7 separate regions of the Homo sapiens genome follow, and all the other regions are linked to region 3. Evidence: promoter capture Hi-C in 16 types of primary human blood cells and fetal thymus (Javierre and others, 2016). All regions are on one chromosome and are shown on one strand. Each heading gives the region's core, a stretch centred on a gene start or on the middle of the fragment in contact. The rest is flanking DNA. Distances are from core to core; before and after follow the strand shown. Region 1 overlaps C5orf34 (chromosome 5 open reading frame 34). Region 2 holds the start of PAIP1 (poly(A) binding protein interacting protein 1). Region 3 holds the start of OXCT1-AS1 (OXCT1 antisense RNA 1). Region 4 overlaps CCL28 (C-C motif chemokine ligand 28). Region 5 overlaps NNT (nicotinamide nucleotide transhydrogenase). Region 6 holds the start of C5orf34 (chromosome 5 open reading frame 34). Region 7 holds the start of HMGCS1 (3-hydroxy-3-methylglutaryl-CoA synthase 1).

The links. Contacts are between HindIII fragments. The CHiCAGO score rates a contact against its expected background, and 5 or more counts as called.
Region 1: a contact is called between a fragment that was not itself captured here and the fragment with the promoter of OXCT1-AS1 in region 3, in 1 of 17 cell types (non-activated CD4 T cells). The highest score is 5.1, in non-activated CD4 T cells.
Region 2: a contact is called between a fragment that was not itself captured here and the fragment with the promoter of OXCT1-AS1 in region 3, in 2 of 17 cell types (non-activated CD4 T cells and naive CD4 T cells). The highest score is 9.1, in non-activated CD4 T cells.
Region 4: a fragment that was not itself captured here is called in contact with the fragment with the promoter of OXCT1-AS1 in region 3 in 1 of 17 cell types (non-activated CD4 T cells); the score reaches 6.3 in non-activated CD4 T cells.
Region 5: a fragment that was not itself captured here is called in contact with the fragment with the promoter of OXCT1-AS1 in region 3 in 1 of 17 cell types (non-activated CD4 T cells); the score reaches 5.3 in non-activated CD4 T cells.
Region 6: the fragment with the promoter of C5orf34 here is called in contact with the fragment with the promoter of OXCT1-AS1 in region 3 in 6 of 17 cell types (non-activated CD4 T cells, fetal thymus, neutrophils and 3 more); the score reaches 11.9 in non-activated CD4 T cells.
Region 7: a contact is called between a fragment that was not itself captured here and the fragment with the promoter of OXCT1-AS1 in region 3, in 4 of 17 cell types (non-activated CD4 T cells, naive CD4 T cells, naive CD8 T cells and 1 more). The highest score is 10.2, in non-activated CD4 T cells.

Annotation. Positions count from the first base shown.
Region 1 is chr5:43,488,154-43,491,671 of GRCh38, forward strand. C5orf34 (chromosome 5 open reading frame 34) reads right to left here. Exons shown (of 13, transcript NM_198566.4): 11 at 2,478-2,576. All of the region lies in intron 2 of C5orf34-AS1 (C5orf34 antisense RNA 1), which reads left to right. Among named protein-coding and RNA genes, the nearest start is that of C5orf34-AS1, 6.0 kb to the left of the region's middle. RefSeq lists an enhancer at 660-829. The HindIII fragment of the contact is 440 bases long and covers 1,671-2,110 here.
Region 2 is chr5:43,553,744-43,557,372 of GRCh38, forward strand. PAIP1 (poly(A) binding protein interacting protein 1) reads right to left here and starts at 3,334. Exons shown (of 11, transcript NM_006451.5): 1 at 2,839-3,334; 2 at 2,087-2,256. The coding sequence starts at 3,103. RefSeq lists a silencer at 2,770-3,629. The HindIII fragment of the contact is 1,132 bases long and covers 746-1,877 here.
Region 3 is chr5:41,868,338-41,871,814 of GRCh38, forward strand. OXCT1-AS1 (OXCT1 antisense RNA 1) reads left to right here and starts at 1,693. Exons shown (of 3, transcript NR_046635.1): 1 at 1,693-1,855; 2 at 1,954-2,045; 3 at 2,429-3,477. OXCT1 (3-oxoacid CoA-transferase 1) reads right to left here and starts at 2,088. Exons shown (of 17, transcript NM_000436.4): 1 at 1,944-2,088. The coding sequence starts at 2,021. LOC102723752 (a long non-coding RNA gene) reads left to right here. Exons shown (of 3, transcript XR_925956.4): 1 at 1-1,265. RefSeq lists enhancers at 1,725-1,804, 2,635-2,684. The HindIII fragment of the contact is 3,584 bases long and covers 1-2,440 here.
Region 4 is chr5:43,393,438-43,396,588 of GRCh38, forward strand. All of the region lies in intron 1 of CCL28 (C-C motif chemokine ligand 28), which reads right to left. Among named protein-coding and RNA genes, the nearest start is that of CCL28, 17 kb to the right of the region's middle. The HindIII fragment of the contact is 3,529 bases long and covers 1-3,110 here.
Region 5 is chr5:43,609,572-43,612,764 of GRCh38, forward strand. The region is part of intron 2 of NNT (nicotinamide nucleotide transhydrogenase); the gene reads left to right. Among named protein-coding and RNA genes, the nearest start is that of NNT-AS1, 7.9 kb to the left of the region's middle. The HindIII fragment of the contact is 1,511 bases long and covers 692-2,202 here.
Region 6 is chr5:43,513,449-43,516,905 of GRCh38, forward strand. It overlaps C5orf34 (chromosome 5 open reading frame 34), which reads right to left and starts at 1,700. Exons shown (of 13, transcript NM_198566.4): 1 at 1,358-1,700. LOC124900190 (a long non-coding RNA gene) reads left to right here. Exons shown (of 3, transcript XR_007058764.1): 2 at 745-3,457. RefSeq lists an enhancer at 1,308-1,467. The HindIII fragment of the contact is 8,167 bases long and covers 1-3,457 here.
Region 7 is chr5:43,313,081-43,316,360 of GRCh38, forward strand. It overlaps HMGCS1 (3-hydroxy-3-methylglutaryl-CoA synthase 1), which reads right to left and starts at 332. Exons shown (of 11, transcript NM_001098272.3): 1 at 276-332. RefSeq lists enhancers at 102-241, 492-721, 728-1,244, 1,245-1,759, 1,854-3,053. The HindIII fragment of the contact is 1,495 bases long and covers 1,218-2,712 here.

The DNA.
Region 1 (3,518 bases), core at 641-3,140, 1.6 Mb after region 3:
AAAGTCTACCCCTTGTAAATCCACTTCAAGGAATTTGTAATCAAATATTGATGTTTGAGGATAATGGGCCTTCCTGTTACTTCTTAGTACTAACCTAGCTTACACTCTACTTTCCTCCCTAAAGTTTACGCAAACTTTACAAACCTATTAAAATCCCATTCCTTCTGTGAAAGAACTGCTCTCTCCTTCCTTGAATTCCTATAGCATATTAATTAATCACATACTTATTTGTAATATCTTCTCTTGAACTATTTAACTTCCTGCTCTTCCTACCTAGATTGTTTCTCTCAGAAGAAAGGATTTTTTACTTTTCTGTACTTGTGCATATATTAAGACCTCATTTATATGGAACTCTTTGGGAATGGATGGTATGGGAGATCCAAGTTTTTAAATAGTTGAATTACGTGTCAAAACAACTATTTTTTATTAAATTCTTTCTGGAATAGACTACCTACTTATTTCATTGTTTTTTTAAGCACAGAGGGTTAACATGATGAACATTAGCTCTTATACCATGTTCTATAGAAAGATAGTGGGACAACTGGTATGGAGTAGAGGGCTAATATATACGTCTCCAGCAGAACCCCTAAGTGTGTGTTCTTTATCCTTTTTCTTATCAAGTTAGAATGAAATATGAGCAATGGCATACAACTACAAACTGTAACTTGACTAGCTCTCTGCAAAATTAATGAAGACATTAGTCTAAAATATTCAAGTCACCAGAAAAATCTTCACAGTTCGTAGTAGGTTGTGTGACTTGTCTGCTTTATTGGCTTTACTACAACAGATCACATGCACCTCCCTGTCAGCTTGTACTCTTTCCCTTGTACTCCAGCCTATGGATGGAGAATGAAAAGAAATATTTCATAATTTTAAACACCTGTGGCAAAGAACTTGGATACAACTTACCCCAACAACCAGCTGATTGTTCATTATTGCAAAATATCTTTTTTTTTTTAAACCCAACGCATTTTTCTGGATGTAAGAAACAATACAACCTTTATTGTTATTGCTCTCATAATGAACGAACTTTTTATGAAACGTACTATTTGTTGACTAAAAAGTTGAATTAATAAGCTAATAATGGAGGGTGTGGCGGAAAAAAAATACTAGAATACAACTTAGGTAGCTTTTTATTGTACAATCTTGTTTCTTCCTTCAACCTACCCTCTTTGATAAGAAAAACCGAAGTGGAGATACCTAAGGCTTTATAGGGGGAATGGAGCTACTCCTCAATTTCTTTATCTTGCCTCTGCTGTTCCTAGTTGCTTTCACCTTTAGCTACTATCACCAATCTCTACTTGCAGTTTTTAGTGTGTATTGACAGCCTCTTCTCAGCTTTCAAATAAAAAGGCTGATGATATTTTACAAACTGCCAGCTAAGCAATGGTGAAGTGATGGTTTTATAGACAAGTACAATTTTCCTTCCATCACAATTGTTTTTTGCTAGTTACTTTAGCAACTTTTCTGCTTCCAAACAGGCTACAGCTAAAGGATGAGGGATCTGCAAAGCTGGATCCTTAAGCTACCTGAGATATTCAAATAACGCTTACTGATATGATTTGATTTGTTCTAAGAAAGGGCTTAGGAAAAGGTAACAAAAATTGGCTTAATGTTTACATTTTGTTTCACTACACTATGTTAGGTCACCTCACAAAACTTACTTAAAAAGCTTCCCAAATTGTTCCTGGTATCCCTGTCTTCCCATATATTCAGGTTAGACTCTCAGTGACACTAATCTTCTAATGACCTTTCTTCCTATCATTTTTCCATTTAGGACTTTCTAATTCCATCAGGTCTGAACTCCTATTTATTATAAGATCCATTCCTAGCCCTCAAAACTCATACTATATACTAATAGATAGCATATGTTCCATAAAAACTATCTTCTATCTCCACAGGCTAAAATATCCTTTTTACTTCTGCCCTTATTTCCTCCCTAAAATGTCTTATATTTTCACAGAAAGTTCCCTTGAAGCCCAGTTCTAGTACCCTGCACACTGAAAAGCACACAGGAGGGACTAAAATACTTGCTTTATTTGATCTGCCAGTTAATTTGGGAGAAGTAACTAATATGACAGAAATTATTTAAAAATCAATGTTTTCTGAAAGCTTATGTTATTAAACCTTTTATTTCCTTCAACATTACTAAAAATTTAAGAATCCCCTTTAAATTTTTCCATAAAGTTTTCAGGATGAATTTGTCACATAAAAAGAGCCACTCATTTTCATGTTAAGTTTTCAATGCAAGGTTTTCTTACCTTTAGGTAAAATAGAATATGATGAAATGTAATAAATTAGATGTCTGATTAGAAATTATTTTCAAGCTTAAGCTATCAAAAATACTTTAGGAGTTAAACATATTCAAAACTAAGAAAGTTTTTTTGGGGAAAAAAGTCTCAGTTTACCATTTGACATTTTAATTTTTTTTAAAGTATTAGCTCTTCTAAACAGATTTAAGTTTAAAAGAAAAATACCAATTTTCTTGGAGAACAGAAGATGACGAATGAGTGGGCATCTCTCTGGGACTAGTCTGGGTCAGTCTCCTGCACCATGATGTTACTGTTGTCACATATCTAAAGTGAATACATTAAAAGAAATACTTGAAAAATGAACTTGAATACATTATAAAATTATAAACAAATGTAAAAATAAGACAATTTGGGAAAAAAGGATAAAGAAAAAATGTTAAAGTGAAGCATTTACTGGGCAATTCTCAAAATATTTTTCACTGGTCATAGAAAAGCCAAATTTTTTCCATTATTCATCAAGAATAAAATGATTTACTTATATTTGTGATTAATACAAGTGACATTTAAGAATCAAAATAAAGGCGATATTTGGATTTCATTTAAAGTTCAATTTTAAATGTTCTAATTCTTTTAGTTTTTCAAAGTAAAATGCGTTTAAGTTTTATCAAAAAATATTCACACAAAATAAGACTGACTGAGCATTTGCTTACTAAAATTTAAACCAAAAAACACCTGCTAATGCATATACACATATGCTTGTATGCATATGTGTAATTATATGTAACTTACTACATATCTAAAACAAGTATCAAGTTTAATAAAATGAATGATCTGAAATGATTGGCTGAATCAATAGAAATGTTTGCTAAAGAAACTATCTTTTTTGAGGCAAATCATTAATAGCAATGAATGAGCACTTAGACTGAAACACAATAAAACCCAACAGAAAAATACATTCAAGAGGTAACAAAAAGCTATTATTTTGTGAATATTCTCAAGTGAAATCACTAAAATGTGAAGACTATCACAAGATTTACTGTAATAAATTAGATAAACCAAAAGAAAAAAAATTCATAAAAAGCTGAAGACTCTTCCCCATTTTAAGATAATCATTGCGTAATTTTATCCACTTTATAGAAATATACAGAATTTCAGTTATTTGTGGTTGCAAATCTTATTTCAAATTGGCTAGAGGATTAGTTAATTGTTAACACAGCTGACCATATCCAACCTCCACAGCAAATCAGTATGTCTATAACACATTTC
Region 2 (3,629 bases), core at 62-2,561, 1.7 Mb after region 3:
TGAATGCCTGTAGAATTCAGGTAGATTACAAATGAATGAAATAAGCCAGAAAGCAAATTAGAGCTCACAGACTCCATCTAAAGAGAATGCCTCTACTCAGCTCCAACCAATTTTTGCTGTATCAAAATGCCAGTCCACTAAGGCCAGATTTTATGACAAACCAGAACATTCAAGTTTCTAATATCTAATTTAGGTATTGGTTAATTAAATAAAACAACTTAAAGAAAAAACAAACCCATTCAGGGCTAGAGAAGACACCTGCAGGCCACACAGGTTTCCAGGTGCCAGGCTGCAATCTGTTTTGGTAAATTGAGCACAGGAGGTGCTGATCTATTAGAGGATGGCAAGGAATGCCTAAAAGATGCAGTGGCTCAAAGTAGGTGGACTAACATGACTTTATATACTGCTCGACAGCCCCAAAGTCACTTGAACCACGTAAAAATAGTTGATACACGATTATTACATACACAAACACACCCCTGTATCCCTCCATCATAAAACAGCCCAAGTCAATAGGGAAGAAAATAAATGGGAACCTGCTTGTAGCTGCTAGAACAAGCATCCTTAAGAGTTTATTCAACCTCTTACAGTGGCTCTAATGGTTCTTTTCCTCTGTGAGCTAAATACAATTTTCTGGCAAGAACTCAAGATGCTCTCATTTCTACCTTACACGATAGATGGCCTTTTTCACCCCATATCAATTGCTTTTCCTGCTATGCCTGTATCTTTTTCTTTCCAATCCCAAAGCTTTTTCCTATACAGCATAAGAATCATGGAGTATCTAAAACATGGAACACAGCTTTTTCCATACTTTTACTGTCAAATATGGAAGGAGAGCCAAAAAGAGGTAATAAAAAAGGTGTGTCATTATCAGTTATAAGGGAAATATAAATTAAAACCACAACTAGATACTATATGCCCACCAGAATGGTTAAACAGAAAATACCAAGTGCCGACCAGGAAGCAGAGTAACTGGAAATCATACACTACTCAGAATGTACAGTGGAACAATCTCTGGAAAACTACTTGGCAGTCTCTGCTAAAGCTGGCTACCCTAAGTCCCAGCAACTCCATACCTTGGTAATATACCAAAAAGAAATAAAGGCATACAGCCAGCAAGACACAAAATGTGCCCTATTCATAATAACCCAAGAGTGAAAGCTACCAACGTTCATCAACAGACAAATGGGATATATTCATGCAATGGAATGTTATAAAAATAAGTCACCTCCAATTATATGCTACAATATGGAGTAATCTTGATATTGAAAGTGAGAAAGAATATATTCTATATGACTTTATTTATATAAACTTTGAACACAGGCAAAACTATCCTATGAAGTCAAAACAGTGCTATACTTGGACATCAAGAACAACTGGAAGGAGACAGAGTGGGTTTTCGGGATGTTGATAATGTTCTATTTCCTGACTGGGATGCTGGTTAGTTGAGTGTTCACTTTATGAGACTGAGCTAACACTTAAGTACACTATTCTCTGCTATACTTCAATAAAACTAAGAAGATAGGAAAGACAGGATTTAAGCTAAAGTATCATCAATCATTTCTCCAATGATTCCCTCCCACTTCTCTATAATTAATCCCTATGCATTTACTCATCTGGGTTTATCCAGTACAACAAATTCCTTTCTACATATTCCAACTGTGCTTTGTACGGCTATTTAAGAAAAGTGACTATTTTTTAAAGTTGTTATATAAGTGACAAAGAAAAACTGAAAGTTTAAACATTCTTTATACCTATGTAAATACTTTATCACAACCCCGTAGGACATTTCTGCATACAATAATTAGGATCAAAACTATGTCTATTTTAACATAATGGAATAATCACTAGAAACAAGAACACAGATGTGTATCTCAAGCTTACATTCTAATACCTTGAATATAACTACAAAATGTATTTCTGAATCAGCTTTGTTTCCTTCTGAGTTCAATAATTCAAAACATTCACAATAAAAAAATTTTTTTACGTGTAGTACAGAAAGCACAAACATACTCTGATTAACAAAGTAACAACCACATTATTCCAGTAAATTAACCCAGAGTTGTAGGAAAAAGGGTGTACTTACTGTGTAACTGGAAGAATAACCTGAAGGGTAAAATTCAGGGGCATTCACAGACAGCTTAGACATTAATACAGGAGCTACAACCACCTGGGGCTTAGCCATTGCTGACTCCGAGTTCTGCTGTGGGATTTTATCCTGTGAACTAGGTGGAGCTCTCAGGGGCCTCGTTTGCTCTGCAAAAGAAAAAAAAACGGGGCGTCAGATGCATTCTTTCCTTTGTACAGCAACTTGCTATATACTGAAAAACCATCTGAAAAGCGTCTGTTTTTAAGAGTTAAACAGGAACCATCATGAAATTTATGGTTATCGCCGGAATGTGTACAGACAGCCTACAAAAAGGAACAATAGACTTGCTGTGACTCCGTTATGGGCATACCTGCCTCTCAAATGAGTGCTTGCGAGCTTTTTTCCTCTCTGTCGTTTTAAAGGGGTCGGTGGAAAAGAGGTGGTTACTCGCTAGGGTCTCGCTTTAGAGGGCTGCTGAGGGGAGGCGATTTTTACTTCCTCCCGGGACCCCGAACTCCGAGACCGCGCACCCGGCCCCTCCCCCCAGCCAGGCGCACAAAGGATTCCAGCAGACACCTTCCAAACCCGGTTCCGGGCCCGTCCCTACCCGGTCACGCGGCCCTCTCGGGGAATGCTTTCGGGGAACCGGGGGTGGGGACCGCAGACAGCGCGTCGGGCCTCGGCACGCGTGGAGGGCCGTGGGGAAGCGTTCGCCAAGGAGGACTGGGGCCCTTAGAGCTGCTCCGTACCTGGGAGCGCCCCGGGCCGGGAAGGCCGCTGGGGGCTGGCGGGGACCTCGCACTGGGCCCCTGGCGGCGGGGTCGTCCTGGGCTGGCGCAGCGGCGGTGGCTGCAGGAAGCCCGGGGCTTTGGGTTGCGGCGGCTGGTGCCGCGCCCGCTCAGCAGGCCCCGCTCCGTTCGGGAAACCGCCGCCCTCAGGCCCGCCCCCTCCGCGGCCCAGGCCCCGGCTCCGGCCCCGACCAGCACCTGGGGCCCGATCGAAACCGTCCGACATGCTCCTCCTCCTCCGCCTCCTCCTCCAGGGGCCGCTGCCGCTGCGCTCGCGATAGGACGCGGGGGGAAGGCGCCGCGGGTCGGCTATAGCCGCCGCGCCTCACTCGGGCCTCATGGAGGAGGAGGGCGGCGGGCCCCGGCTCGGCTGCTCGGTGCTTCTGGCGGAGCGGACGGCAGCCCGAGCACCCGCCGCTCCAGAGCGCCCGCCCCGCTCGGCTACCCTCGGCTTTCCAGTTCTCCCCCAAAACCCGGCTCCCCGCCTTCGGCGCGGCAGGGGCGCAGGCGGGTCACAGCGGCCCCCTGCGGCCCGGAGGCCCGGGACGCGCCCGCGAGGATCCTCCAGTTCGCGGCTGGCCGGCCGCCGGGCCCAGCAGGCCGCCCGCCGAGTGGCGTCTTGGCCACCTGCCGGCCCGCAGCCAGGCTCGGGCAGGGGCATCTCGGTTCCGGGGCCAGGCTGGGGGGGATGAGGGATGAGGGGTGAGGGGGACGCTTACCACAGGCAGGCCCGACCTACTCGGTAGTTCTCA
Region 3 (3,477 bases), core at 443-2,942:
CTGCCATCGGGGAACTGTCATCTGGTTGAGGAGACAATATACACATCTGAAAAGTTAAACAAGTAGATAAGTGGTACAGTTCAACAGAAGCAGCAGGTGAGGATTTAAAGTGCTAAACAATAAGGGCTGTAATCCCAGCACTTTGGGAGGCCGAGGCGGGCGGATCACGAGGTCAGGAGATCGAGACCATCCCAGCTAAAACGGTGAAACCCCGTCTCTACTAAAAATACAAAAAATTAGCCGGGCGTAGTGGCGGGCGCCTGTAGTCCCAGCTACTTGGGAGGCTGAGGCAGGAGAATGGCGTGAACCCGGGAGGCGGAGCTTGCAGTGAGCCGAGATCCCGCCACTGCACTCCAGCCTGGGCGACAGAGCGAGACTCCGTCTCAAAAAAAAAAAAACAATAAGGGCACTAAGAGCCACAAGCTAGGGGAATAGTGGAAGGCAGGAGTTAGACCTATGATAATCAAGCCTGACAGGGCTAAGTTTGAACTCTGTATGAACTTTTAATGAGATATAGCAGAACCCCTTATTTGCATCTCGTCCCTCTAAGATGAGGTTTGCTGAGCTTCGGAAATGGTTTAATGATATACTCAAGATGGAAAAGACTTGAAGTGAGTAAATTACAGTTGGGCAAATCAGTAACTGTCAAAAGAAGGAACGTTCCTGACCTCGGCCCAAGGGTATCGCTGTGCTCTGGTTTGTATTAGCTTCAGCACCGCTGCAATCTCACTGAAGGTCAAGTTCCCTTTTAATAATGCTTTATATATCCAAGTCTATCTGCAGTTATAAAAATGCTTCCTAAGAGGCATTTAAGAGTAAAATGGTCCAGTTCTGAACCATTCCCTAGCACCTACCGAAGGAGCTCAGTGGCTCCTCTGTGTTCTCAGCGGTCAGGGATTGGATGCAGGAAAGAGCAATGGGGCCAGGCAGGCACGCTTCAGGAGTAAGCACCGTGTGCATGGCACGCTGTCAAGCTCAGACCTATTACTGAATACCAAGGAAGAGGCTCCCGCGATTGAGACGGCGGGGATAAAGCCACCCTCCTGGACCTGGCGCTCTGGTCCTGTAATTCGCTCCTAGGGCTCCAGACAGGGGTGGGCTTACAAGCGAGGACAGTGCATAAGGCAAAACCACAAGTCAGTCCACGGTGGGAATGCCTCCGGATACCACTCGGTGGAGAGTCGGCAGTGGGGCACAAAAAGGATTTCAAAGGGCTCTGAAAACCGAAAGCCCCTAACCCGGATACGAGGGGCCTCGAGAGAAAGGTTTGTCCTCCCCTGCAGCCCAGGCGCGGGCCAGGGACACACCTCGGATGGTTTCCCAGCTTGGCCGGCAAGACGCCCTGGCGAGCGCTCCAGTCTACGGGGCAGCAGAGCCAAATAGGGAGGAGAGGATGGGAGCGGCATTCCACACCCGCCGCACCCGGCATCCAGCCCCGGTGAACTCGAGCAGAGCCATGGCTAACCCAGCCTCAGGTTCTGGGCCTCTAGAGGTTCCTCTGCCCAGAGATCCAACATCGGGGGCGCAAACCTACCCGCTGTTGCCTCACTCCTAAACCTCCATATACTGGCGCCCTCCTCCCCCCGTTCAGACCCTCAGAGTCCCTATCCAAGGGCGGGTGCCAGGAGGGAAGCCGACGAGCGCCAAAGGGCTCGGGAGCGCTGCCAGGAGTCCTCCCGCCCCTTCTCAGCCTCTCCGCGCGCTTCTTTATCGCGTCTCGCTCCATCAGGGAAGCGACTGCAGAACCAAGCAAAGGCGGTCATCCGAGGGGCCGGCGAGGCCAGGAACGCGTCGCCGCGTGTCCGTGACCAGGGCACCGCGCCACGGATGCCAGATCCCAGGCTGGAGAGAGCGGGTAGGGGCAGAGAAGAAAACGCGGGCACCACTCAGGGTTTGGTCCACGTTCTTCCTGCCCATGGCCTTCCTCTTCCCCCGCACTTTACCTTGTACCAGGTTGCCCCAGATCCGCGGGCAGAGGCGCAGAGCCGAAGCCCGGAGGAGAGGAGTTTGAGAGCCGCCATCTTCGGGCGGTGAGGCAGGAGGAGGCTGCGGGTTGGAGCGCGCGTTTGAGCGTCGGTGCGCGACTGCGAAGGAAACCCGGGCGGGCTGGAGGCTCGACAGCGCGTCGATGACGTCCTCCCGGCCTTTCGAGCCGCACGCCACCGGCGCGCTGCTGGCTGCTGCTTTTAAAAGAAGTGAGGCTGGGCGGGGCCCCGGCGGGGAGAAGAGGCTCTGTGCAGCCGGGGCGGATCGCGGGGAAGTTCCTCTCAGCGCCTCAGGTGTCTGGGCGTGTGCAGCTGTGTTGGCGCACACTTGCCGCTACAGCCCTTCTGTCAGCCCTTTAGCTTCGATGGGGCGCTGGTGGCCGCCTCCCCCTAGGTTGTGGATGAGTCTTGGCCTAGGGTTCAGGGCCCTCCGGCCGCGGGAGGATCTCCCGCCAAGCTTGTTGCTTTTCCAAGTTAGTGCCTGGCGTGTGTGTGGGCTGCATAGGGGCACCCCTCGAGGCCCCCTTCTCTTCTCCCGCCTGGACTGCGTTCACGTTTCTAACATTTCTCAGCCCCTTCTCCCCACATCTGGCCTTGGCTTACATAGAGTAAGTTTGCTGTGAGCACTTGCCTCGAACTGTCGGTCAAGAGGTGTGAGCAACAAGGCTTGCAGAGGAACAAGATTAAGACTGGACCTCTGTGACCTGAGTTTAGCACACCTTTTCTTCCCCATCATCCAAGTTTGCGAATTTCGGGCTCTTTCTCGCACTGGAGTCCCAGCAACCCCAGAGATTACTAAAGATGCAACCATAAAAGCAGTATATTGCTTTAACCTTAGGCAAGTTAGATAACTTCCCTAAGCCTCAGTGTCCTCATCTGCAAATTAGGATTGCTTGTGATACAACGTCATAACGTTTCTATGAGTTAATTCATGCAAAGTTTATGGCCTTATTATGAGGAGTCAATAAATGTTAGGCATTATTATAAGTTTATTCCATTGTAGCAGTTCATTGACATGGCACGTACATATTCGCCAAGCCTTGTCTTTTGACCAACTCCTTGAGGACATGAGCCACGACTGATTTCTCCAGAACTGTCTTTGCACTTAGCAGAGTGGAAAGACCAAGTGGAAGCTCAATAGCATTTTATTTGATTAAGGCCTGACCAAGTTCTGAGAATGTGATGTTAGTTTTGAACCAAAGCAAAGCACACAAAAATTAAATGAGATCTTAGCTTCCTTAGCAAATACAGTAAGGTAATGAACAGTGAAGATGCAGTTCAAAGTTTGTCCATAAAATCATTTGCCCTTTCATGGTATTCTTTTAACTCTGAACTTTTTTTTTTCCTGTAAATATTATAATTTTAGTCAAAATCAGTTAAGGAGTAAGATACCAAGTTAGACTATTCAATTACACTGGAGAAATTAACTTATTGCTAGTTGGTATTTCAACACATTTTAAGAAGTTGGATTGGGGGGAAATTCAAGTACTGT
Region 4 (3,151 bases), core at 96-2,595, 1.5 Mb after region 3:
TCCACCTCCTGGGTTCAAGCGATTCTCCTGCCTCAGCCTCCCAAGTAGCTGGGACCACAGGTGCCAGCCACCATGCCCAGCTAATTTTTGTATTTTTAGTAGAGGTGAGGTTTCACCATGTTGGCCAGGTTGGTCTTGAACTTCTGACCTCAAATGATCCACCCACCTCAGCCTCCCAAAGTGCTGGGATTACAGGCGTGAGCCACCGCGCCCGGCCTCCTTTCCTCCATTCTTAAGATGAGGTTCTTTAAAGACATAGTGTATCTTAATCTTTACTTTTGGATTGAGATAAATCTCTACAAGGATTAAGCCCACTCTTCAGTTTTTGTAATAATAGCTATATATATCCAAGGCCAAGGGCCAAATAACCTCCAGATGTATTTTTAAAAACACCTCTGGATTTAGCTCAGGGTCTCTCACAAGACGTGTAGAAACTGTCACAAGGTGTGACCCTTTTATCTTTTGAGGAGGTGAGAAGTTATTCTTTCTTCTGCTATGCTATATAAAATTCTGTTCCAATTTCATAGTCACTTTTGTGCTGCCGTACATGCTTGTAAATGTGTTAATGCTTACTCAGTAATACTTTTTTTTCTCTTCTGTATTGGTACAGAGGAATCTTTCATTGGCAGGATTGTTCTTTCCATAACAGAACCACCCCATCTCACTGATATGCAGACACTCCTTAAATCTTCAAGTTTACACATACACATAGGTCTGCTTCTGGGCTTTTTCTTCTGTCTCATGCTCTACTTATTGATCTCTGCATCAATTCCACATGTTTCAACTAAGACACTTTTTAATAAATCTCAAAACTTGATACAATAAGTCTTCCCACTCAATTTATTCTTCAAAATTGTCTTGGCTGTTCTTGATCCTTTACCTTTTAGATAAATTTTAGAATCAGTTTGCTTAGTTCTTTAAGAATTTCAGGAATTGTGGTTGGAATTGCACTAAGTTTACAACTAAGATCTGAAATATATTGTCTTCCCATTCATAAATATGGAATTATCTCTCTATCTATTCAGATTTTCTTGGTCCTCCAAGATCTTTATGAAGAAAATGATAAGATAATGTCGTATATCTTAGATCTATATTTAGGTACCTTATATATTTTGTTGTATTGTGAATGAACTCTTTAAAAATACTTTTTTCTAATTAGTTAATTTTTATGTATAAGAATTCTATTGATTATTTAATGTTGCTCTTGTATCCAGCAACCTTGCTGAATTTTTTTATTTTTAATAGTTTGGAGTAGATACTCCAGTTTTACAGGTAAATCGTCATTTTCATCTCTTTCTTCTCAATTCCTGTGTAGGAAATAAAGGATTTTTCTCTTTTAAAATCTGTTACTTTGCTAAATGCCTAGAACAGTACCTAGCCCATTGAAAGTTTTAAATTGCTGCGGTGGATTAATCTATTTTCTTCCTTGCCCTCCTGGGATAAACCATACTTATTCATAATATATTAATTTTTATATATTGTATAAGATATGCTATTTATTAAGATTTTTGCACCTCTGTTCATAAATTAATCTATACTTTTATACCCTGTTACCATCCTTCCATGTTTTGGGTATTAAGGGTATGTTAATCTCAACAATGCATTAGGTAGTTTTCTCTGTTCTTCCATCCTTTGAAAGAGTTTGTATAAGATAAAGATTTTCTGTTCCTCCAATTTTTGGTAAAACTTAAAAAACTATCTAGGCCTGGTGTCTGAGGAAAGATGTTTAAGTTGGATTTGTTATTGGCTTACTTGTATATATAATATATATATATTTACATATATATTTATATATTTATTATTTTTCCAAGAAATTGTTCATTTTATCCACAATTTCTACTTTATTCTCACAAAGTGTCATAGCTTTATCTCACTGTATTTGCAGTCATGGCTCCTTTTTTAAATTCTTAGTGTTTGAAGTGAAGGTTCCTGTGCAAAGTAATAGTTTAAAAGTTTGAGCCAGGTGTGGTGGCTCATACCTATAATCCCAGTACTTTGGGAGACTGAGGTGGGAGGATTGCTTGAGGCCAGGAGTTCAGGACCAGCCTGGGCAACATAGTGAGACCCTGTCTCTACAAAAAATTTAAAAGATTAGCCAGGCGTTGTGGCCCACCTACTTGGGAGGCTAAGGCAGGGGGATCACTTGAACCCAGGAGTTGGAGGCTTTGATCCTGCCATTGCGTTACAGGAAAGGGGTCCCCATCCAGACGCCAAGAGAGAGTTCTTGGATCTCGTGCAAGAAAGAATTTAGGGCCAGTCCGCAGTGCAAAGTGAAAGCAAGTTTATTAAGAAAGCAAAGGAATAAAAGAATGGCTACTTCATAGAGCAGCCCTGAGGGTGGCTGGTTGCCCATTTTTATGGTTATTTCTTGATGATATGCTAAACAAGGAGTGGACTATTCATGCCTTACCCCCCGCCTTTTTTTTTTTTTTTTTTTTTTTTGAGACGGAGTATCGCTCTGTATCGCTCTGTTGCCCAGACTGGAGTGCAGTGGCGAGATCTCTGCTCACTGCAAGCTCCGCCTCCCAGGTTCACGCCATTCTCCTGCCTCAGCCTCCCCAGTAGCTGGTACTACAGACGCCCGCCACCACACCCGGCTAATTTTTGTATTTTTAGTAGAGACGGGGTTTCACCGTGTTAGCCAGGATGGTCTCGATCTCCTGACCTCGTGATCCGCCCGCCTCTGCCTCCCAAAGTGCTGGGATTACAGGCGTGAACCACTGCGTCCAGCCCATGCCTCCCCTTTTGAGACCAAATCGGGTAACTTTCTGACGTTGCCATGGCATTTGTAAACTGTCATGGCGCTGATGGGAGTGTAGTAGTGAGGGCGACCAGAGGTTACCCTTGTGGCCATTTTGGTTTTGGTAGGATTTAGCCGGCTTCTTCACTGCAACCTGTTTTATTAGCAAGGTCTTTTATGACCTGTATTTTGTGCTGACCTATGTCATCCTGTGACTTAGATGGGAATGCAGCTTAGTAGGTTTCAGCCTCATTTTACCTAGCTCCTATTTTAAGATGGGAGTTGCTCTGGTTCACTCGCCTCTGACAATTGCATTGCAGCCTGGGCGACAGAGACCTTGTCTCTAATAATAAATAAATGTTTGGCTCTAAGCTTAGAAACAAAGCATTCAACTCATGGGTTAAAGAGGAA
Region 5 (3,193 bases), core at 197-2,696, 1.7 Mb after region 3:
ACAAAAAAGATAAACCAGTTGAGTTGTCCCTGGAGCCTATTGCTCATAATAACCATTTCTCCTAGAAGCCCTTCCTAATTCCTTGTTAGTATTTGAGAATTGTACCATATACAGCTCATCTATGCTCAGGAATTAGGAATTAAGTATATTAATTGGTCTACATTAATGCTTTCCAATTTAGTTAGTAGCAATTTGATTGCAGTTGCTCAGGTCAGAAACCCTGGAGTCATTCTACATCCTCCTAGTAGGTATAGGTCAGCTCCATCTCATATCTACAAACTGTCCTCTTCTTGCCATTGCTACTTTTATCATCTTGGTCCAAGCCATCGTCATCTGTCACCTGTACTGATGCACCAGTCTTCTAAATGTCTCTGTGCTTTTTACCTCTGCCCCCTACAGTCTGTTCTGCACAGGACAGTGAGAATAATCTTTTTAAAATGTACAGTCATGTCACTCCTCAATTCAAAATTTGCCACTTGCTTCCTAGCTCTTACAGAGGAAGATCTGAAGTCTTCCAGTGGCCTACAAGGCCTTCCCTGATAGAATGTCTCCTTGCTTCTGTTCTGGGGTACAGGCCAGAAGGAGGAGAGGCTAAAAAGGGGCCCTTCTAAACCAAGTCAACTGTCTGTCTTTTTTTTTTTTTTTTTTTTTTAAGCAGCAGCAAGATTTATTGCAAAGAGCGAAAGAACAAAGCTTCCACAGAATGGAAGGGGACCCGAGCAGGTTGTCCCCCAAGTCAACTCTCTTTCATCAGTCTTGCCCAAAGATCATCCCAGTACTTCTGTCACTTCACCTCACTGTCCAGAACTCAGACATGTAGCTGTAAGGGAGACTTGGACATTTTGCTGTAAGGGAGACTTGGACATTTTGTCTTTTATTCTAGATGGCAATGTACCCAGCTAAAAATGGCATTTTCTTATTAAGGTGAAGGAACAGGATGGATATTTTGGGGGGCAACCTTTGTCACCTAGAATAATGCCCTCTTTTGTTTTTTAAGTTTGTAGGACTGTTTGTGGATTCATTAAGGACCTCTAAACTGCTAGGTGTTTTGAGATCTTATGTCTGCCTTGAATAGATTTTATAGCCTCTTTTCTTGTTCTCAGATGACAAGTCACAATTGGCAGGGTATCTGTCCCTACAAGCCTCCAACTTTATCTTCAGATGCTTTCTTTTAAATTGCTCTGGAAAGCCAGATTATCCTGGTGATAAAATTGTGTATAAAATAAAGGTAAATAACTGTTGAAGACATGAAAACTGTCCTTGTGAGTAAATCCATGGACATCAAGATCTCTATATTGATTATGTATAAGACATTTTTGTTTAATTTCTGGTTCTTCACTATTTCCTAATTATTTTTATCTCTGAAAGATAAGAAGTCTATTTTTTCCTTAATATAACCATAAGTTCATTACCATATTGAAAAGTGTAGTAAGTAATTCCAGCTACAGTCAGTATTCATATTTTTTCAATTGCTTTCTTGCTTCTTTCCTTCCTTCTTTCCTTCCTCCCTCCCTCCCTCCCTGCCTCCCTCCCTCCCTCCCTCTTTTTCTTTACAGTTGGCTTGTTCAAAGAGTGATCCAAACAGGGTCCACACATTGTATTTGCTATGTCTCTTTTGTCTCTTTTTATCTATAAGTTCCCCTCTCTTTATTCCTTTTAATATACTGAAGAATTTCATTGTTGCTCTGTAGAATTAACAACATTCTAGGTTTGGCTGATTGAATCCTCTTGGTATTGTTTAGCCAGTTTCTCTGTCCCTTGTATGTGCTTAAATTATCTCTTATTTGGTCAGTGGAAGCCCTTTCAAATTGGCTTCTAAATCCTTTTGACATGGCTTCAGTCATCTTTGGTAGCTTCCTTGCTTTTGCCATGTAGAGCCTGACAATTTGAGGTTGTCAGCTAAGTGAACTTGAGATGAGTGTATGTGATTGAGCTTTGTATGTCAATCCAAATATTTGCCAGCTTTCTATTATTTTCCTCCTTCTCCTTCCAGTAAGGAGTAAGATTCAGCATTATTTGCCTTTCGTGTACTGTAAATTATTACTATATAGGTAGTGTGGAATCTAAGACAGTGTTCAAATTCAGGTCTAGGTTGACTTAATTTCTCTAAGGTCTTACTTAATAAGTTACTTTGTAGGGATAATTTCATTCATTTTGAAATTATACATATTCAGATCTTAGGTTGCAAGAATGGGTTTCCTAAGCTTTAATAAACCTTATATAGAAACAGATACTCTTCATTAAAAAATGTTTATGCTGCATATTAAGTAAAACATCAGGAGAAACTGATGTCCTGTAGCTAAAGATGGTCTGAACCATATCTAAATATAAGATTGTACTATATAGGCTTTTTTGGGTTGCAAGGAACAGAATCACATCAGATTATATTTTGTGATGAGGGTTTGCTATGTGGATTCTTGGCAAGTGTGAGAGCCCAGAAACCCCCCATCTACTCCTTGGATAAGTGGAATGTTATTTGTAGAATTCATGGCTGTGACCCATCTTCTCTCTTTAAATATCTACTACTGATGTTTCTATCACTGTTACTGCTGACCTCCCTTTGATTACCTCATAGCTGTGCTTACAAATAATATTTGCACTGATCTACTCTCCTTGTCCCTCTCTGTGGGTCTCCCATTTAAACTCCTTGAGAGAGAACCCAGTGGGTTGAGTAGTCACTGGCCAACATAGAGCGTCCTTGGACAGAGTTCCTGTCTAAGTCATCTTATAAGGTGCAGCTGCTAGTTTTCCTTGTCTGCCCTGTAGATGATTGTCCTTGACACAGTTGCTGATCCCTTGTCTAAGTGGCTGAGTGTGTAGAGTCTTAAGATACAACACTTAGAAATTTATGAGGCATTGTGTGTGGCCAAATTGCCTGGAAGGGAACTTTGAGTGTGGCAGGCCATCAAAGTGTCTAGGATACAGTTGTTCTTCAAAATAGCTAATTACTTCCAATTTTGTTAAAAGTAAGGGCAAGGAGACCATAACCTTGCCCTTAGTTTGAAGAATGGAGTCAGCATGTGGAGGGATCTCTAAACCCATTTTTTTTTCTCCTACAAATCAACTAAGCTTGTTATATTCCTTGAAGAAAGCCAATTGATTAAATAAAATATTTAGAAGTTTCAGAAGAGTAGGCATAAAAGTTTCTTATAATCTACCACAAAAGTCAAAGAATTATAAGTATGAATCAGGA
Region 6 (3,457 bases), core at 450-2,949, 1.6 Mb after region 3:
CCCAGAGGGATCTTTTAAAATGAAAATCACATCTATCACTTCGTGGCTTAAAACCCACCAGTACCTTCCATTTCTACTTAAAATCCAAACTCCTAAACTATGGCCTACAAAGGCCACACAGTCTGGTCCTATCTACCTCTCCCAATGTCATTTCTCAACTCTCTCCTACTTCTACAGGGCACTTTAGATACATTGGCATTTTAAATGTTCTTTAAACAAGCTCTTTCCCATCTTTGCAGTTCTTTCTGCCTGCCTTGTCTTTTCCTTGGCTAATCACAAGGCTGGTTCTTTATCATCATCAAGGTTTCAGCACAAATGTAACTCCTACAAGGGCCCAACGACCAACTAAGTTAAAGTTACTCCCAAACATCTCCCAATCATTTGTCATCCCTCTTCAAGTTTTTTCTTCATAGAATCTATCATCAAAATTGATTATTTACTTGCTTTTTATTTTCTCCCACTAGGATATAAAGTCAACCGAAGCAGGGGCCTTATCTGTCTTATATGTAACAGTATCTCTGGCATCTAAAACAGTATTAGGCAAATAGTAAATGGCACAATAAATATTTGAATGATGAAAAATAAGTAAACTGCTCCTCTTGAATTTGCAATTTGAATTAATGGTGTCTCATTGTTAGCAGCCAATATTCTAAAACTTGACTTTCCACTCCATGCCCCTGTAACAAGTCCTGTTGATTTTCTGTCTTTGGAACCTGACTCTCTCTACCTCTTTCTCTTTTTCAGGCCATAGACTCTCCAACTCCTGCAACTGTCTGGAATTTCTTCTCTCTCCAATCCATCTCTAGTATTGATGACATAGGTAACTTTCCACAAGTCACACCATACCAAGTGCTTTACATCACCTGTTTACGTACTTATCAAATGGCAATATAGATTACAGATATATATATAAACACACACGTATATATCGGGTATGTCTACTTGGTATTTTAGGGGAAAAAACGGGTGCTGATACATAGATGGAAGACATTTTCTGATTCCAATTTGGGAAAAATAGTCTATCTTTGGTCAGGTCTTTTTTTTAATAGCTTTACTGAGGCGGTTTTCTAATTTTAAATAATCAAGCATACACAACAAACAGTGTAATGACTAAGGTTCTTGGCATACCATAGGAAACCATAACCCGGCTCCAACCCACACTGCCATTCTCATCTCTACAGTCTCATTCCCGCTTGCGTTCTCATCACCCAGCACATTACGTCAGGGTATGTTTAACACTCAAAAATCCACAAGTCTGTTCTTGACATGAATGAGAATCTCATTTCTTTCAAAATGCTATAGTCTCTAGTTACAGAAGGAGCCTGATCAAAACAACCACCAAAAGTCTTCCACTCACAGCAGTTCGGAGCCGAAAAGTTGCGGAAATGAGGCCCAGCAACGGTCCCTGGCTTTGATTTGCCAAAATGCTCTGGAAGCCGCAGCGTCGGCGCCTGCCCACCACTGCTTCTTCAGGGGTTTCTTCAGTTTGACAAATTACCAGCGAGTGATATTTCTTGGTGAAAGAAAAAAATCACAACCCTAGAGGAATAAGGTGGCAGGGAGAGTGTTTTGGCCAAGATGCCCGCCACGAAACAGGAAAGCGGAGACAGCGCCAACTGTAACCACTAAGAGAAAGCGCAAACCGCACAAGACCAGTTCAAAACCAGCGCCCTCAGGGAGCCGCTTCAGAGCTCCGCAACAGGGAAGACAGGAAGTCCCGCCCCTCCACAACAGGAAGGGCCGGAAGTCCCGCCCCTCCACTCCGGAGGCTGCCCTCGCTGCGTTCCCTACGAAGGGCGGAGCAGGAATTGGTGTAGGAAGGGGACGGGTGTTTCCTTGTTCGGAATGGGGTTGGCTCCTCTTTGATTTTTTACTTCTGGTGACCCACGCAAAAGCAGTCCCGACCTGGTTGTATTAATAATAAAGGCTGTAAGGATCAGCCTTTTGAACGGTCCAGCCGAGAACTAACCACAGAGCGCGTTTTAGTGGAGTGGTACTTATTTTTAAATAAGGTAAAAAACGATTATACTTCAGTAAAGCTGTTTAGAAAAAAAAAAACTTGGCCAAAGATGGAGAACTCTTCCTAATTTGGTATCAGAAAATAGGTCGTCTATGTATCTGCACCTTTTTTCCTTATAAAGTGGCAAATAAATGTGTCTGCTATATTTATTGCCACTAAACAAGTGTTTATGGAACACTCACTGTGTGTTTAGGCATAGTGGGGATAAAGCAGGGAAGGTGGCCCAGTTCTTTGCGGGTGAGGATCAGAGCTAGAGATTAACTGGAAAGAAAGAATAAACAATCATTTATTACAGTTGTGAGTGTTTCTAAGATAAAATACAGAGGTTTGTGAGAGCATAGAGAGGCATACCTTGTTTTATTGTGCATTTTATTGTGCTTTGCAGATACTGAGTTTACTACAAATGGAAGGTTTGAGGCAACCTTGATGGAGCAAGTGTATGGGTGCCATGTTTTTCCAACATCATGTGCTCACTTTGTGTCTCTGACATATTTTGGTAATTCCCACAATATTTCAAACTTTTTCATTATTTTTGTATCTGTTAGAGTGATCTGTGTGATCACTGATCTTTGATGTCACTACTGTAATTGTTTTGGGGGACCACAGATCATGCTCATACATTATAAAATGGCGAACTGAATCTGTTACAGGTAGTTAGGCATGAGCAAGGCAGGAGAGGGCTCTCCCCTGCCACCCACCCACTAGAAATGTTGGGTGATGGTTCAGCAATTATCACATGGCCTCTCTAAAAATGAAAATTTGGCAGCGCCAGGGAAAGGCCATTTCCTGATGGCCCACACCTGTTAACATCAAAATGTTAATTGAATGCAGGCCCCAGAGAGAAGCAACTTCCTGGGCATGCCGGTTAAGAGACAAAAGTGATGAAGTATGATTTTTCTGATACACTCCACCGGAAAAAGGAAGAAAGCCTCAGATGGGCATGTGTATAAATCCATAAAATCACTGTGTGTGCTCACTTCCCAAGGGTAAAGAGGGCTCTGAGCATGCAGGGAGCCCATCCTAAGATCATGGTTAAATGCGGCACTTGACCTTCTCTCTCTCTCTCTCCTTTTCTTTTTCTTTTTTTTTTGAGACGGAGTCTCACTCTGTCGCCCAGGCTGCAGTGCAGTGGCGCGATTTCAGCTCACTGCAATCTCCGCCTCCCGGGTTCAAGCAATTCTCTGCCTCAGCCCCCTCCCCGAGTAGCTGGGATTACAGGCGCCCACCACCATACCCGGCTAATTTTTTTGTATTTTTAGTAGAGACAGGGTTTCACCATCTTGGCCAGGCTGGTCTTGAACTCCTGACCTCATGATCCACCTGCTTCAGCCTCCCAAAGTTCTGGGATTATAGGCGTGAGCCACTGCACCCGGCTGGCCTTCTCTCTTTAACCTTCACATGCCCACTTGGGTCTCTTCCATGCGTACCTTCCTTTCT
Region 7 (3,280 bases), core at 715-3,214, 1.4 Mb after region 3:
AGACCTCAACGCCCTCTCGCGTTCTCCCCTCCGCGACTCGCCTGTGTTCTCGGATCTTCTCAGATCCGCTACGGTCGGCCTCAGGTCCCTCACGAGGGAACCCCCGCCCGGCCCCGCTCACGGTGCCCCATCCTCCCGGGCAAAGTCCACGCCTACGTCCTGACCCAGAGCCCCAGCTCCTTCGGGCCTAGTCAAGGACACCGCCTCTGTCTGGCCCACACCCCGCCCGCGGCACCTCCGCAGCCCAGTTCTACTCCCCAGCGCGGGACACTCACCAAGCGTGACCGAGCGGCAGCAGAGGAAAGGGAGTGAGCCACGAAAGGACAGTCCGCGGCGCCTCCCCTTCGCCACCAGCTTTATAGCCGCCAACCCACCCGACTCCGGCACCGCCGAGAGTCGCTGGGAGGCGGGACGGTGGCTCCCACAGCCAATCGCGGCCGGTAGAGTTGCCCGGCAGCGCCCGCCCCCCAGTCCGGCTTCTACCAATCAAAAGGAAACTAGAGGCGATGACTCGCTAGGATTTTCCCTCGTGGCTGGAAGGGCGGGGAGAAGAGGCGGGGACAAAGTCTCAGGGCCGAGGAAGTGGTGTGAGAGACTGACGTGAGGTGGCACGAGAGCCCAGTTGCCAATGACGGAGCTGCGAGATACGGCGAGAGCCAACGGGAGCGGAGTGAGAGGTTCTCCGACCAATTGGGACTAAGTGAGAGGAGATGCGGGCCAATGGGTACTCCGCGTCCCACCGCTGGAGAGATGGTCAAATGTGGGAGGCGAGGTGGTCCCAGCTTGGGAGTCTGTCAGGTTGCCTAGCAACCAGAACTAGGCTTCACCTGAAAGATTTCTGAAATACTGTACTTGATTTGAATTCAGTCTTAACGTTTTCTAGCAAAGTGTGCGTAGATTGCAAATTGGAGCAGAATACTTCACCCAGAACTTGTATATGTGTAAATAGTCTAAATACCCGATTTGTAAATACTCAAATATTGTCTCCTTTATTCAAAACTACCTTGACTTAAAGAAAACAGAACAAACAAAAGTGCTCTTGAGACAAAGCTTTCTAACTAAACCTAAAACAAAATGGTTTCAGGATTAGGCATCCGTGGGGAGGGTGCAGAGCCTTGCCTGTGAAGGGAAGTTGATACTGAATTCAAGGATTTTTGCCAGGCCATGCACTCTGAGGAAAGGGACTCCATTTGGCCTGTTGCCCACTGTATCTTCTAAGCTTCATATGTGGTACCTGCCAAGTAAAAGGCTGTGGAAAGGCCACGTAATTGTCGGCATAGTAAATCCATCGGATACGGACTGCCTAACTCCCCCAGCAAATAGAGAGGAGCAATTCAAGCTAGAGGAATTCACTGAAACACTATTTGGGGGAATCCAAAGGAGGACACTTGTGGCTTTGCAATAAACTCTGCCTCTATCTGGTCAGAGAGAGAAGCCATAATACTTAGCTTTGGTGGGGGACCATGAGTGAGGTTCGGAGTTGTTTGTATCTCTCCCCATCTCAATTTAATTAACAGGAATGCTATTGATAAGGGGTCATTGGTAATTCTGTGATTCACACAATTATTGTTATGGGAGATTCTTTTAACCACTATAGATGCTAACCTAGTAAGACACATTCTCAGCAGCAAAGTGGCAAAATATATTGGAAATGGAACCACTGTGAAGTGGTGGCATAAATGACTTGGGGGAAGAGGACCACTCAGTAATGATTTCCATTCCACAGTATTGCCCATGACTCACTTCATATGTATGTAAAGTAACTAGATAGTAAACAGAGAGAGAGACATTGCCTGATTATGATCAACAGCAATTTGGGGTGGGGTAGGAGATTAAAATTCTTGGCATATTGGAATATGCTGAAAGGCAGTAAGGACAAACACAAGAAAGAAGATACAGTTTTGTCGTTAGGAATCGCAAATAATTCCAACTCCAGGAGTACATAATGGGAAATGATTAGCCAGACGGTCATGAGAATGACCATCTTACACAACCGGAAATTTCTACAAGGAACAGACCGTCTTTTTGATCACGTTAATCTTCAATTAAGCAAAGTGAGCATGATTATTGATTACTGGGAAGCCAAGCAATGGAGAACAAAAAGGGTTAGTAATTAGATACAGAAGATCTTGTTATAAATAAAGTTTCCATGCTGCAAAAGAAATAGCAGTCGAATATAAAATTTTCTTTTTAATTCTCAGCAAGGCAAGGTACTTCTATAGAAGGGTGCACCCTTACAGATGGAGCAATGGTGAGTGCACACTTGGACGAGGGAGGGAAAGGGGTTCTTATTCCTGACGCACGTGGTCCCCACTGCTGTGTCGTTCCCTTATTGGCTAGGGTTAGACTGCACAGGCTAAACTAATTCCGATGGACTAATTTAAAGACAGTGATGGCGGGAAAAATGGTTATGAAATGAGTCAGGGTGAAGAATGAATTGGAATGAGTCAAGGTGGAGTACGTAATCAGAATGAGTCAAGGTGGAGAATGAGTCAGGTTGGAGTAGGTAATCAGAAAAGGTTGCTTTACTAGGAAGCTACGTTTAAAAGTAGAAGGCAAAGAATGGAACATACTGACATATTAATTCTTTGAAGAGAAATTTAGAATTCATATTTAACAACTTCCTCCTCTTGCATTTTTCTTACAGCTTTCTCTTCAAACTTATTTAACATGTCTTGATTTAGTTGTTCTGCTTGATTTTCCAAAAGAAGAAGCTTTTCTGGATGAGGTGGAGGATAGTTAAGGGAGGTTTTAGTAAGTACCGTTTCTATGAGCCTCTGCACCAACCCACAGATGCATGGTATGACACAGCACCTGACAAGAATAAGTACACCTATTATGACTATGAGGGAGGTAAGAATTGGGGCTATTATTCCTTTCCATTTACCGAACCACTTTTCTAGCCATCCTGTAAAGGGATCATTTACCCGTGAGTTGCTGGCTAACTCATTGGATAGAGCAGTCAGACCTCACAATGCCTTTGTTATACTTCCATTAGGGGTGGCGTTGTTTGGGATGAAGGTGCAACATTGAGTTTTAATCATAACGCAAACTCATCTTCTTTCTGCTAATATCATGTCTAAGGCTATCCTATTTTCCCAAGCCATCTGGCTAATAGCCCCTAATTGCTCAGCTATTCCTTTAACAGCATCTCTAGTGTAGTTAATACATCACTGTTGGTTGTAATAGATGTCGTTTAACCAATCTGCATTTTTATTAATTGTCACCCACCAAAATATTGACTCAAATCCTGCAGCTATTTGATTTCGGGCTTTAAATT